Linked DNA regions of Homo sapiens: regions 2 and 3 are each linked to region 1. Evidence: promoter capture Hi-C in 16 types of primary human blood cells and fetal thymus (Javierre and others, 2016). All regions are on one chromosome and are shown on one strand. The core of a region is centred on a gene start or on the middle of the fragment in contact, and the rest is flanking DNA. Distances in the headings are between cores, read along the strand shown. Region 1 holds the start of CLDN23 (claudin 23). Region 2 overlaps ERI1 (exoribonuclease 1). Region 3 overlaps LOC124901866.

The links. Contacts are between HindIII fragments. The CHiCAGO score rates a contact against its expected background, and 5 or more counts as called.
Region 2: a fragment that was not itself captured here is called in contact with the fragment with the promoter of CLDN23 in region 1 in 8 of 17 cell types (naive B cells, total B cells, M1 macrophages and 5 more); the score reaches 7.9 in naive B cells.
Region 3: a fragment that was not itself captured here is called in contact with the fragment with the promoter of CLDN23 in region 1 in 5 of 17 cell types (total B cells, naive B cells, M1 macrophages and 2 more); the score reaches 8.4 in total B cells.

What each region holds. Positions count from the first base shown.
Region 1 is chr8:8,700,210-8,704,507 of GRCh38, forward strand. CLDN23 (claudin 23) reads left to right here and starts at 1,728. Exons shown (of 1, transcript NM_194284.3): 1 at 1,728-3,887. The coding sequence starts at 2,190. The coding sequence ends at 3,068. RefSeq lists a silencer at 1,461-2,080 and an enhancer at 1,554-2,521. The HindIII fragment of the contact is 12,864 bases long and covers 1-4,298 here.
Region 2 is chr8:9,005,684-9,009,981 of GRCh38, forward strand. ERI1 (exoribonuclease 1) reads left to right here. Exons shown (of 7, transcript NM_153332.4): 2 at 2,287-2,465. Among named protein-coding and RNA genes, the nearest start is that of ERI1, 4.9 kb to the left of the region's middle. The HindIII fragment of the contact is 1,124 bases long and covers 1,314-2,437 here.
Region 3 is chr8:8,981,730-8,986,027 of GRCh38, forward strand. All of the region lies in intron 3 of LOC124901866, which reads left to right. Among named protein-coding and RNA genes, the nearest start is that of ERI1, 19 kb to the right of the region's middle. The HindIII fragment of the contact is 9,598 bases long and covers 1-4,298 here.

The DNA of each region.
Region 1 (4,298 bases), core at 478-2,977:
TAAGTGTCTATGGATGGAAGACTGGATAAACAAAATGTGGTATTTATGCACAATAGAATATCATTCAACCTTCAAAAGGAAGGACATTCTGACACATGCTACAATATGGATGAACCTGGAGGACATTAAGCTCAGTGAAATAAGCCAGTCACGAAAGGACAAATACGGTCCGATTCCAGTTCTATGAGGTACCTAAAGTAGTTAAATTTATAGAGAGAAAAAAGTAGAATGGTGATCACCAGGGCCTGTGAGGGAGGGAGGAAAGGAGAGTTAGTGTTTAGTGGGTACAGTGTCAGTTTGGGAAGAGGAAAAAATCCCAGGAGTGGATGGTGGTGAGGGTATCACAACAATGTGAATGTATGTCATACCAATGAGCTGTACACTTAAAGATGGTTACAACGGTCAACTGTATGTTACATATATGTTACCACAGGTTTTTTTTTTAATTTAAAAATATTCTTTTAAAAAAAGCAGTCACTGTCATTCCTAGTGTTGTCCACTCTGGAATATTCAAAATTATTTCAAACCAATGCTAAATTAACTTGAATTTTAAAAATAGTTTTAATTTTAAACAATTATAAAGGCAATACGTTTTCATTGTAAAAATCTAGAAAATACAAAAAAGTGTTATTAAAGGATAATTTTTAGAAAAAATGTAAACATCGTGACTTTCACACAAATATAAAATGAATATGTGTGAAAGAGGTTATTTAACTCATTATTGAATAAGGAAACCAGTATGATGTTAAAACCAAAGAAGCTGGCCACTTGCCTGCAGTCCTAGCTACTCCAGAGGCTGAGGCGGGAGACTCACCTGAGCCCAGGAGTTTGCAACCAGCCTGGGCAACACAGCGAAACTCCCCAACCCTGTTTAAAATAAATAAATAAATAAATAAATAAATAAATAAATAAAAGAAAAAGGAAAAAAAAAAAGCAAAGAACAAAAGGACACACATATACAGACAAACAGGAATGCTAAAATGAATTTACAAATCAATGCCATACTGGTCAGTATCCATTGGACAATAATCATTCCACTGGGACGAACTCATTAGCCTTGATGTTGGCAAAAGTCATTTGCAATACTACAGGCTTTCTATAATTTATAGAGTTGTAAAATAACCTACAGACGAGAAAGGCCACAGTACACTGTAAAATTAAATAAACCTGCAAAAAACGCTAAGCAGGACATCCGGGAACACTGGTCCCTCTTTCTAGTCCCCTTGAAAGTCTCACAAGGCTGAAAAAGGAAAGTAAAATCCTTGTGTAACCCTTCTGCCCAGAAGTACACTGGCACAGATTCTTTAGAGACGAATTTAATCCAGAGTGTGGAGCCTTTATTAAGGAAATAATCCGGTGCAACGTTCTGGGACACGCTCCTGGACTGGGTGGGCTTCTGCACACTCACCCAGCGCACCTCCAATCCCCGGGAGCGCTCGGCACCGCCCACTTCTCTGCGAGTGGCTGCAAGTTGCAGAGCAAACCAGGGGGCGATCTGGAACCCTCTGGGAGTAAAGGGCTAAGCTATAAGCGCAGGGTCGACGGGCAGGGACCGGAAACAAATTCTAGGAACCGAGATCCGCTGAGCAGCAGGGAAGCTGCGCAGCCACCGCGTCCCGCCAGCGCCGCCTCTTTCCCTCCCCGCCCACCGCCCGCCTGGCCCGGCGGGGCGGCGCGAGGACCCAGGGGCGGGGCGACCTTTGCTCCGGCCGTGAGCAGTCCAGGCCAGGCGTGGCCCAGCCGCCCGGCTGCAAGGTGGGGTGTCCCCGCCGCTCGGATCCCCATCTCACCTGCCGCGGGCGAGGTGGCCCCGCCGCTTCCTGCGCTCACCTCGGGTCCCTCCCTCCCGGGCCAGGTTTGGCCGCGGCAGCCGCCCCTGGGCGCCCGCGCCCGGACCCGCGGTTTCGGTCAGACCCGCCCGCGGGCTGGTTTCGATTAGGGCCAGTAGGAGGGCGGAGCGGCCGGGACGCCAGGAGGGAACTAGCCTAAGTGGGGACGGTCCCCGTGCAGGAGACAAAGAGCGTCCCTGGAGCGATCAGGGCTCAGGAGCCCGACCCGGAGCCCGGGGCGTCCGCGCTGACTTCGGGTCCCCGGAGCCTGGGGCACGGCAGGGAGAAGACGACGGCGGAGAAGGCGACAGCGGAGAAGGAAGGCAGGCTGCAGGGGCGCCGTCGGCGCGGCGGGCCGGGATGCGGACGCCGGTGGTGATGACGCTGGGCATGGTGTTGGCGCCCTGCGGGCTCCTGCTCAACCTGACCGGCACCCTGGCGCCCGGCTGGCGGCTGGTGAAGGGCTTCCTGAACCAGCCAGTGGACGTGGAGTTGTACCAGGGCCTGTGGGACATGTGTCGCGAGCAGAGCAGCCGCGAGCGCGAGTGCGGCCAGACGGACCAGTGGGGCTACTTCGAGGCCCAGCCCGTGCTGGTGGCGCGGGCACTCATGGTCACCTCGCTGGCCGCCACGGTCCTGGGGCTTCTGCTGGCGTCGCTGGGCGTGCGCTGCTGGCAGGACGAGCCCAACTTCGTGCTGGCAGGGCTCTCGGGCGTCGTGCTCTTCGTCGCTGGCCTCCTCGGCCTCATCCCGGTGTCCTGGTACAACCACTTCTTGGGGGACCGCGACGTGCTGCCCGCCCCGGCCAGCCCGGTCACGGTGCAGGTCAGCTACAGCCTGGTCCTGGGCTACCTGGGCAGCTGCCTCCTGCTGCTGGGCGGCTTCTCGCTGGCGCTCAGCTTCGCGCCCTGGTGCGACGAGCGTTGTCGCCGCCGCCGCAAGGGACCCTCCGCCGGGCCTCGCCGCAGCAGCGTCAGCACCATCCAAGTGGAGTGGCCCGAGCCCGACCTGGCGCCCGCCATCAAGTACTACAGCGACGGCCAGCACCGACCGCCGCCTGCCCAGCACCGCAAGCCCAAGCCCAAGCCCAAGGTCGGCTTCCCCATGCCGCGGCCGCGGCCCAAGGCCTACACCAACTCGGTGGACGTCCTCGACGGGGAGGGGTGGGAGTCCCAGGACGCTCCCTCGTGCAGCACCCACCCCTGCGACAGCTCGCTGCCCTGCGACTCCGACCTCTAGACGCTTGTAGAGCCTGGGGGGCGCCGGGTGGCAAAGGACTCACCCCCGCACAGGCCCGCCTGGCTTCGAGTTGGAACCCGGACACTTGCCCCTCACTGGTGTGGATGGAAATCTGCCTTTCGTGGGACCAAACAGGACTCCTTGGACGATTAGTTCAGGTTGGGTTTGGTTTTCTTCTTAAAGAGTTTAGTTTTCCTCTCCAGAGGGATCAGGGTCCTCTTAGGGAGTGACGGGCTTTTCATATATTTTTGCTGAAGAATATATGGAAAGGGTGGCATTTGCGTCACGTGGACCAGGGACAGTGCTGAAATCAGCAGTGCTCAGAAACAATTTAACATGTTGAAACGACAATATTCTAAAATACTGATGAATCTTGCATCAATATAATTATTGGGTTTTTTTTCTTTTTCCTGCTGTATAACTCCTTGCCATGCAAACTCTCAAGAGGCCAATATATTCCTGGCCATGTTTGAATGAGCCTCTTAAAATAAACTTAGAGCCATGCAAATGCCAGCAGCTTAATGGATTTCATGGAATGAAATACCGTGATTAACTCATAGCTACATATCATTGCATAAATGGGATTTATCTTTTTTCTCACTTATTTTTGCGGTGAAAGTCGAGGGCATGCAAGAGTTTCTCTTCCAGAAGCCAAGAGGAGAACAAAGGTCCTAATGCTGTACTATTCCACCCTTTGGACGCCTCATCCAGGACGCAGAGGACTCTAGGTTTAACATTTTGTACAAAATGGAACCTGTTAATCATATTAAAGCACATATGTATATATCTTTTATTTATAAATAAAATTTTAAAACAATAGTTTCAGTATAGCCACAAAAGCTCTTTTGTCTTCAGTACAACGTTTGGGAGTTTAAACATTCATTACTAACAATTTCCTGGCTGCCTCGGCACTTGTGTCTGAAATCTAGCACTCAAATCTTTGCACCTCTTAGCATAAGGTTACTAAAAAAAGCCAACGGGCCCCACTTAAGTCCCTGATTGCTTTGGTTTTAGGTTCATGCCATTTCTGTGCAAAGCCAAGTCTATTGCTGAGAAAACGAGAAGCACCAGTTTCCACTTGAGGTGAGACTGGAAATCTTTTCCTTTGTAGCAGTGGTGTTTAGAATCACAGGAAGGCAGCTATGTGTTCCATGAAGGGGACTGGGTCTCCAGCAGGGCTGGCTTCAATTCCAAGTGGTTGATTTAAGGGTACCTTTAACCGAACTGAAT
Region 2 (4,298 bases), core at 626-3,125, 310 kb after region 1:
TTTTAGTAGAGACGGGGTTTCACCGTGGTCTCTATCTCCTGACCTCGTTATCCGCCCGCCTCGGCCTCCCAAAGTGCTGGGATTACAGGCGTGAGCCAACGCGCCCGGCCTCAACGACAGTTTTAAAGTAGTTTGCCACAAGATAGTAAACCTCTGTTTGGTATAGAAGATTTTCATGGCCACATCCCATAATGTAAAAGCTTCTCTTATTTGAGATAATATAAACCATACATCCACTTAATTGAATACGTGAATATTGCAAAATGTTACAGTTCTGTGATGGTGAATGTTTCTCTCCATATTGTGGAATCTATCACTTTTCTCATTATATGGTCCGTATTATATGTGACATGTGATAGGTGGATGTAGTTACTGGTACGGATGCTGATGCAAATGTAAGTATGTATTTCGTAAACTAATTTTGTCTTTCTGCAGATTAACAATACAAGTAGGGTTTTTAGTATTTTCTTTCTGCTCCTTGGCAGATTGATTTGAGCATCCTTCTTTGTGAACCATTAGTGTAGATTTGAAATTTGGGAGGAGACACTGCTTTCTGAGGATTGGACCTCGGCTGTCTCTAGAACTTCACTGAAGGAAGAGAACTAGAGCTGGACCTAGGAAAGGAAGCAAATTTTTCTTTATGGAAGTCATAATTTATAGCATCTATAGAAGAGGCCTAAGTGTTACTTGTGAATAATTTTTCTAGCTACAGTTTAGGATGAGAATTAACCAGTGAATCAGAAAGAGGATTTATCCAAAGAGAAAATCTGCTTAAATTAACTGAGACATCTGTTTTGGTAGACAAACTGTTACTTAATGTTGACCTAAATTTTAACCTGAAATTTACTAAATGATGACTAAAGATGAAGTTTCAAATTCAATGTAAATTTAAAGTCAAAAGATAATTTTTTGTAAAATTCTGGTCAAGCAGAGCAATATCTATTGTAAATCTAATATATTGTTGAAAGTGAATCATTGGTCAACTAGCAATACTTTTTTTTTCCTTAACATTGTTAACAAGGAACCTCAGTGTGGCTGTTCTTTAATTTATGGACAGTTCACACATTGGAACTGCTGACCTCTTCCTCAAAGGAAATGGGTGAGTCACTCTTGAGTACTCTGGCACCTTACCTAGCATTACATTTCCAGTAAATGTGTGTTGCATTAAATTGAGAGCTTAGAGTAAGAAATGGTTCCTGAACCATCAGGATCAGTTCTGAGTTAGGGACTGTGGCCTCTCTGTGATTATCCTTCCTTGATCTATAATTACAGTTTACGTGAGGACAATGTGGTACATTATAACTAAGGTAACAAGCTTTAATAGGGATAATTAGTACTAAATATTTTTCAAAATTATGGAACATAGCTAATATTTGTGATATTGCATGTGGAAAATAACTTACAAATGAATCTTTGGAACTTAACATATTAGTAATTTGAGACTGCCTGTGGAGAAAATAGAATTGAGTCATGTTTTTTCTTAACAGATTTTTATTTATGAAAAAATTCATAATTCTATAGTTCTTCTGGTTAGTGGACCTAAGTACAACTTTTGGAAAATGTAAGTTTTGAAATTAAATACATTTCCTTCTTTGAGTACTAGGAAGCTGTAAATTAGATTTGCGGTCCATTTTGTTTTTATGTTGGGCAATTTTTGTTAACTTTGTGAAATGAAGTCAGGTTAAAAAATTATCAGAAGTTATTACACATGTATAATGTAAAAGTTCATTTAAAAATGGGTTCATTTGTAAATATTAGCATATTGTTTGTGAAGGGCTTGTTGTATAGCCTGTGATATTAATAGTTACCATTTATTAATAGCTACTGTGGGTGTAGGGGTCTGATACACATAATCTCATTTAATCTTTGTAATAATTCTGCCCAAACACTATTTACCATTACCAAATTACCATTTTATAGATAAGGAAATTGAGGATCAGAGGCTAATACGTAGCTATCCAAAGTCATGCTGCTATTTCTAGTAAATAGTCAGCTGGGGTTCTCTATTGAGGTGGTGTTGACTCCCACCACCAGTCTTCTTTTTACTTAGCTTTGTTTCCTTTGAGGAACCTCATGACTCATAATAGAGTGGGGTAAATTGTATTGGAGACGCATCTTCCTTCTTATCCTTTCCTCCGTTTAGGAGCTGCAGTGAACACTTTTCATTGAACATGTAGCATGAAGAGGCTTCAGAAGTTTGAAAGTTTGAATCTTTAAATCTGTGATGTTTGTACTAATTATAAACTACATCCTTTTTTTTTTTTTTTTTTTTTTTTTTTTTGGTAGGAAACTCAACAGTGTAAATTTGATGGCCAGGAGACAAAAGGATCCAAGTTCATTACCTCCAGTGCGAGTGACTTCAGTGACCCGGTTTACAAAGAGATTGCCATTACGAATGGCTGTATTAATAGAATGAGTAAGGAAGAACTCAGAGCTAAGCTTTCAGAATTCAAGCTTGAAACTAGGTAATTAAAAATAACTTATAAAATTATAAAAGTAGTACATGCTCATTTTAGAAAATCTTGAAAACATTGAAATATTAAAAATCATCTGTAATCCTACCGTAATGACATGATCCTATTAACAGTTCACAAAAACTAATTAACATTTTTTATGTGCAACTCTGATTATTTTTGTCTGTCTTCTAGATGATAGGACTGCTGAATCAAAGTCAAATATTTTAATGACCTACCGGCAATGTATAGGAGTCTCTGTCTTATTATGACAAGAGTGTTTTAAATTTTTTTAGTTGCTCATTTAAATGATGGATAGTTATATTAGTGAGATAGAGTATTTTTTATTTTCTTTTTGCCATTTGTATCTTTTATAAAAAGAGTTTGTTTGAAATCAGGTACAATAAATTAAAAACATTCACTTAACAGGAATATTTTTTGTTTTAATTTCTAAAAAATAATCTACAATGATCGTTTGCATTATGTTTCACTGTATATTGAGTGAGAAAACAATGCAACTTAGTCAACTGTATGTGTATTTTAATGAGATATACACATACCTAAGTTTTTAGTAATTTTTTGCGAAACAAATCACTTTACGTTCATTGGGCCATGGGGCAGAAATGGCTTTTGGAGTCCAGAAAAATACATCGATTTTTGATAAACGGTAGAACTGCCAGGCATCAAGAAAAAAAATTGCCTGTATGAAATAGGTAAAAACTCTTCCTTTTTCAAGACATCTCTGAATCATAATTCTCTTAATAGTAGTATTCTTCCTCTTTAGAGTTTCACCACTCTTCAAAAGAGCACAAATTTATTAATTTCTAGATTGTCTACATCATAATGTATGAAGAAATTTTTGACTCCTATTTCCCCGATTCTTTCTGTTATGAAGGTACAACTTGTAGCCTACAGAAGATTTTCCGAGCAAAATTTTTGTCCTTCCCAGGTGTGAAGATCAGTTGCTTACTCCTGGCTTGCGTGGGAGCTAGCGATCTAGATGTATGTTTATACGTTTATTCAACAAGCCTGTATTGAATTCTAAGTACTGCACTAGGCATTGAAGTTATAAAGGTAAATACAGATATGTTCCCCACTTTGGCAATCTCAGTCTTTTGGGAAAACATACAAAGAAATCATCACAATACAGAGTGGCCAATGCTATATTGGAGGTCTGGCCAGGTACAGCATGAGAATACAGAGGAGAATATTTCTCAGGAATTCAGAAAGATGACATTTGAATTGTGCCAAACAGAAAAGGGAGGGGGAGGGTATTTCAGGCAAAAAAATAACAGAAACTTTTCTAATTCCAGTTTGTATGGTTTCTGCAACATGATCTTGCCTTTTCTTCACCTGTTGTGCAACCAAAGTTATAGGACATAAAAGTGTATTGAGAACATGCCTTTTATTTTTTATTTTTTTGAGACAGAGTCTTGCTCTGTCGCCAGGCTGGAGTGCAGTGGTGTGATCTCGGCTCACTGCAACCTCCGACTCCTGGATTCAAGCGATTCTCGTGCCTCAGCCTCCTGAGTAGCTCGGATTACAGGCATGCACCACCATGCCTGGCTAATTTTTGTATTTTTAGTGAAGATAGGGTTTCTCCATGTTGCCCAGGCTGGTCTCGAGCTCCAGCTCAAGTGATTCACCCCCCTCCCAAAGTGCTGAGATTATAGACGTGAGCCATCTGGCTGGTTGAGGCCATGGCTTATAGTATATTTTGTCTGCAGTACACAGTATACCTCAGGAACATGTGACAATGATAGTGAAATGATAGGTTGTAGCCAAGTTGTGAAGGAACTCTATGCTGAAGTCTGCATTTTACCTCGTAAGCAGAAGGGAGCCACT
Region 3 (4,298 bases), core at 1,799-4,298, 280 kb after region 1:
TTAACTATTGTGAACAGAAAACACAACATGTGGGTAGTTTGAAATAAGCAAGTGGAACCAAAACAAAAGGATCACCCATTATCCTTCTTTCACAGAGAGCTTTAATGAATTCGATATTGTGGGATATCTTTTCTAGCTTACTTTCAGAGTAGAAGAGATTTTCATCTATTTGGAATGGATTAGCTGCCATTCAGCTTAAGCCGAGCAGTGAACTTGTGACCTCTTATTTCAGGTTCATGATGCTTTGAAACTCAGCCACAGGAAGCAAAGATATGGGTGGCAAGGCTGGGCACAATAGCTCACGCTTGTAATCCCAGCACTTAGTGAGGTCGAGGCAGGTGGATTGTTTAAGGCCAGGAGTTCGAGACCAGCCTGAGCAACATAGAGAGACCCCCGTCTCTACAAAACAAACAAAAATAGAACAAAGCAAAAACCAGCCAGATGTGGTGGCTCATGCCCAGCTACTCCAGAGCCTGAGGTAGGAGGATCGCTTGAGCCCAGGAAATTGAGGCTGCGGTGAGCTGTGATTGCACCACTGCACTCCAGCCTGGGTGACAGAGTGAGATACTGTCTCAAAAAAAAAAAAAAAAAAGATATGGATGGCAGCAATTTTGCCCCACATGGGGCCGCAGTGAGTGTATCAGGCCATGGTGTTTCTTGGGAAGGAGAATGCAGCAATGTTAATAGTCAACCTATTTAGAAATACAGCAACTATCATTTCCTTCCACAGGTATAGTAGGGAAACTGAGTGGTGCTGTCCACACGCTTGGAACCATTCCTCCAGGGCTGACTTTTTACAGAAAAAGGCTTATTTTATTTTACTTTATTTTTCAAGACAGTTTCACTCTGTCACCCAGGCTGGAATGCAGTGGCACGATCTCCGCTAACTGCAACCTCCACCTCCCAGGCTCAATCAATCCTTCTGCCTCAGCCTCCTGAGTAGCTGAGACTACAGGCACGCACCACCATGCCTGGCTAACTTTTGTATTTTTAGTAGAGATGTGGTTTTGCCATATTGGCCAGACTAGTCTGGAACTCCTAACCTCAAATGATCCAGCTGTCTCGGTTTCCCAAAGTGTTGGGATTACAGGTGTGAGCCATGGCACCTGGCCAGCTTATTGCTTTTTAAACCTGAAATATTTTCATGGACTGGGAGAGACATAATTTTTGTTGTTGTTGTATAAATTCAGCCTCTTTCTTTGCACTGTCTTTTCTATTGAAAGTTGAAAAGTTTGATGGAATTGGAATAGGGAATGTAGTTCTAATTGGACCAGTCAATTCCCAGCTCTTAAAAGCCTGGACTGATAGTCACGGATTCCTTGCAGCCTCACTTTCTTATTCCATAAAGTGGGATCCACAGTACCTAACTGCCGTGACAACTCACAGAACTGTTTTTGTTTTGTATGCTGTTTTTAGAGACAGGGACTTGCTTTGTCACACATGCTGGAGTGCAGTGGTGCGATCATAGCTCACTGCAGCTTCAACTTCCTGGGCTAAAGGGATCCTCCCACCTCAGCCTCCTGGTTAGCTGGGACTACAGGTGCTGCCACCACACTTGACTAATTGTTTAATTTTTTGTAGAGATGGGGTCTTGCTATGCTGCCCTTACTGGTCTTGAACTCCTGGCCTCAAGCAATCCTTGCACCTTGGCCCCCAAAGTGCTAGGATTACAGGCGTCCCTCACCGTTCACACCCTCACAGAACTGTTTTAAGGATCTGATCAGCAAACGGGTGTTAAAATTGCAATAATATTATTTCTTTATCATGAAAGCACTTAATAAGTGTATCATATAACCAGTTTTCCTATTGTGTTTGTGTTTGGATCTGCTAAAAATACATTTTACACTGAGCAGGCTGAAAGAGAAAGCAAAACACCAGAGAGCCCGGTGTTTTCTGACTAATAAAATATTCTACATAATCATGTAATGAACAATTGCTGAACACAAGTCTGGTGAGTTCATTTATGTCAGTAAACAAATTCCAATTTTTTTCAATGAACATATTTTGTAGAATGAAAAATTAATTCAATGTTTTATAATAGTGTGATCACACATTTTGTAGCTGAAAGTCACATCTCTAGGAGGTTAAATGAGAGCTAAGTTTTTATTTATTTATTTTTTTTTTTTTTTTGAGACAGTCTCACTCTGTCCCCCAGGCTGGAGTGCAGGGGCATGATCTTGGCTCACTGCAACCTCCTTATCACGGGCTAAAGTGATTCTCATGTCTCAGCCTCCCAAGTAGCTGGGATTACTGTAGTATGCCACCACACCTGGATAAATTTTGTAATTTTTTAGTAGAGGTGGGGTTTCATCATATTGGCCAGGCTGGTCTCGAACTCGTGGCCTCAAGTGATCCACCTGCCTTGGCCTCCCAAAGTGCTGGGATTACAGGCATGAGCCTCCCAAAGGCTGGGATTACAGGCATTACATCTACCACTCCCAGTGGAGAGCTAAATTTTTAGCAGGTGAGCATCCTCTGGATTATTTTGAGAAGGTTATTTCCTCTCAATAAACATAACAAGTCATAGATCCTGCAGAGATTTAAACGGAAATAAGATGGCTGTGCAAGGAGACAGCAGAGACCGTGGAGACTGAGATAAAATGATAGGAATATTGAAATATGCAAGTAAATAACTACATTGGGAAAAATTAAAGGCAGATATTTTACTGTGGAGGAAGAGATTACAAATATAAAAGGCTGAGAAAAACCTTGAGGTGTGGGGTTGAAACTGATGATATCAGTGTGAACTCATATTTATATAGGCAAAGATACATAAAGATGGAAATATTTATATAGAGTATGTGTATGTGTGTGTCTTCCATCTCCGTTAATGAGAGGTCTCAGAAGCAATGACCCTACTGTAGCAATGAGTATATTCTTCACTAGGCCAGGCGCAGTGGCTCACGCCTGAAATCCCAGCACTTTGGGAGGCCGAGGCGGGTGGATCATTTGAAGTCGGGAGTTCAAGACCAGACTGGCCAACCCAACATGGCAAAACCCTGACTCTATTAAAAATTTTTTAAAAAATTAGCCAGGAGTGGTGGCACACACCTGTAATCCCAGCTACTGGGGAGGCACAGGCAGGAGAATCGCTTGAATCCAGGAGGCTGAGGTTGCAGTGAGCCAAGATTGTGCCACTGCACTCCAACCCGGGTGACAGAGTGAGACTCCACCTCAAAAAAAAAAAAAATTTTTCAATAAAAGACCCAGGACTCCTTAGAGAACTGGCAAATTCCTGGGCCAGGACAAGGGAAAGACAGAATGAGCTTGAAACAGTTTGTTGCACAAGAATGTAAGAAAATGCTAAAAAAAAAAATAATGGGAACATGTCAAAAGGACATAGGAAGCAGCTTGAAGAAACTCCCTTGGCCAAATCTAGGTTAATCTGTGTCATCCCCCTCCCCTAAAAAAATGATAGAAATGGATTACATTTCCTCAAATAAAATAGGAAGCCATGAGTCCATACTGACATATATATATATATATATGTAAATTAAACAGGAAAGCATCTCTTTGTAGTAGAATGTCAACTACAGAAGGAATTATGGAAATAGAAAAAATCATCATTTAAGGCTGGGCGTGGTGGCTCACGCTTCTAATACCAGCATTTTGGGAGGCTGAGGCAGGTGGATCACCTGAGCTCAGGAGTTTGAGACCAGCCTGGCCAACATGGTGAAACCCCATCTCTACTAAAAATACAAAAATTAACTGGGCTTGGTGGCAGGTGCCTGTAATCCTGCTACTCTGGAGGCTGAGACAGGAGAATCACTTGGACCCGGGAGGTGGAGGTTGCAGTGAGCCGAGATTGTGCCATTGCACTCCAGCCTGGACAACAAAGTGAGACTCTGTGTCAAAAAAAAAAAGTTAAAGTCATTGTTTAAGGAGTACCATAATGATAGTTGATTCAGACAGGAATGGGTAATGAATGCTCCAGCCTGTGTGCTGGCATTTGATAAGGTACAGATACTCCTCAACTTACTGTGGGGTTATGACCTCACACATCCATCGTAAGTTGAAAATATCATCATGTTTTAGATGCACAGTGCTTCTTCTGATTACAGAATTTAAATATTCTTGAAATTTCCCTTTCTTTTCTTAATATCAGTGGTTTTGTCACTAAGACTGAAACTTAGCAGTTTAATCTTGTCCTATTTCCATTAAAATATGGTTATTCTTAATACCTACTCAGAATCCCTGCAATGTGAGGTACAAATGAAGATTCTGAGGCTACCCAGATCTATAAAGTCAAATCCTGAAATAAGGACCCCAGGAATCTACATTATTATGGAGTTCCTCGG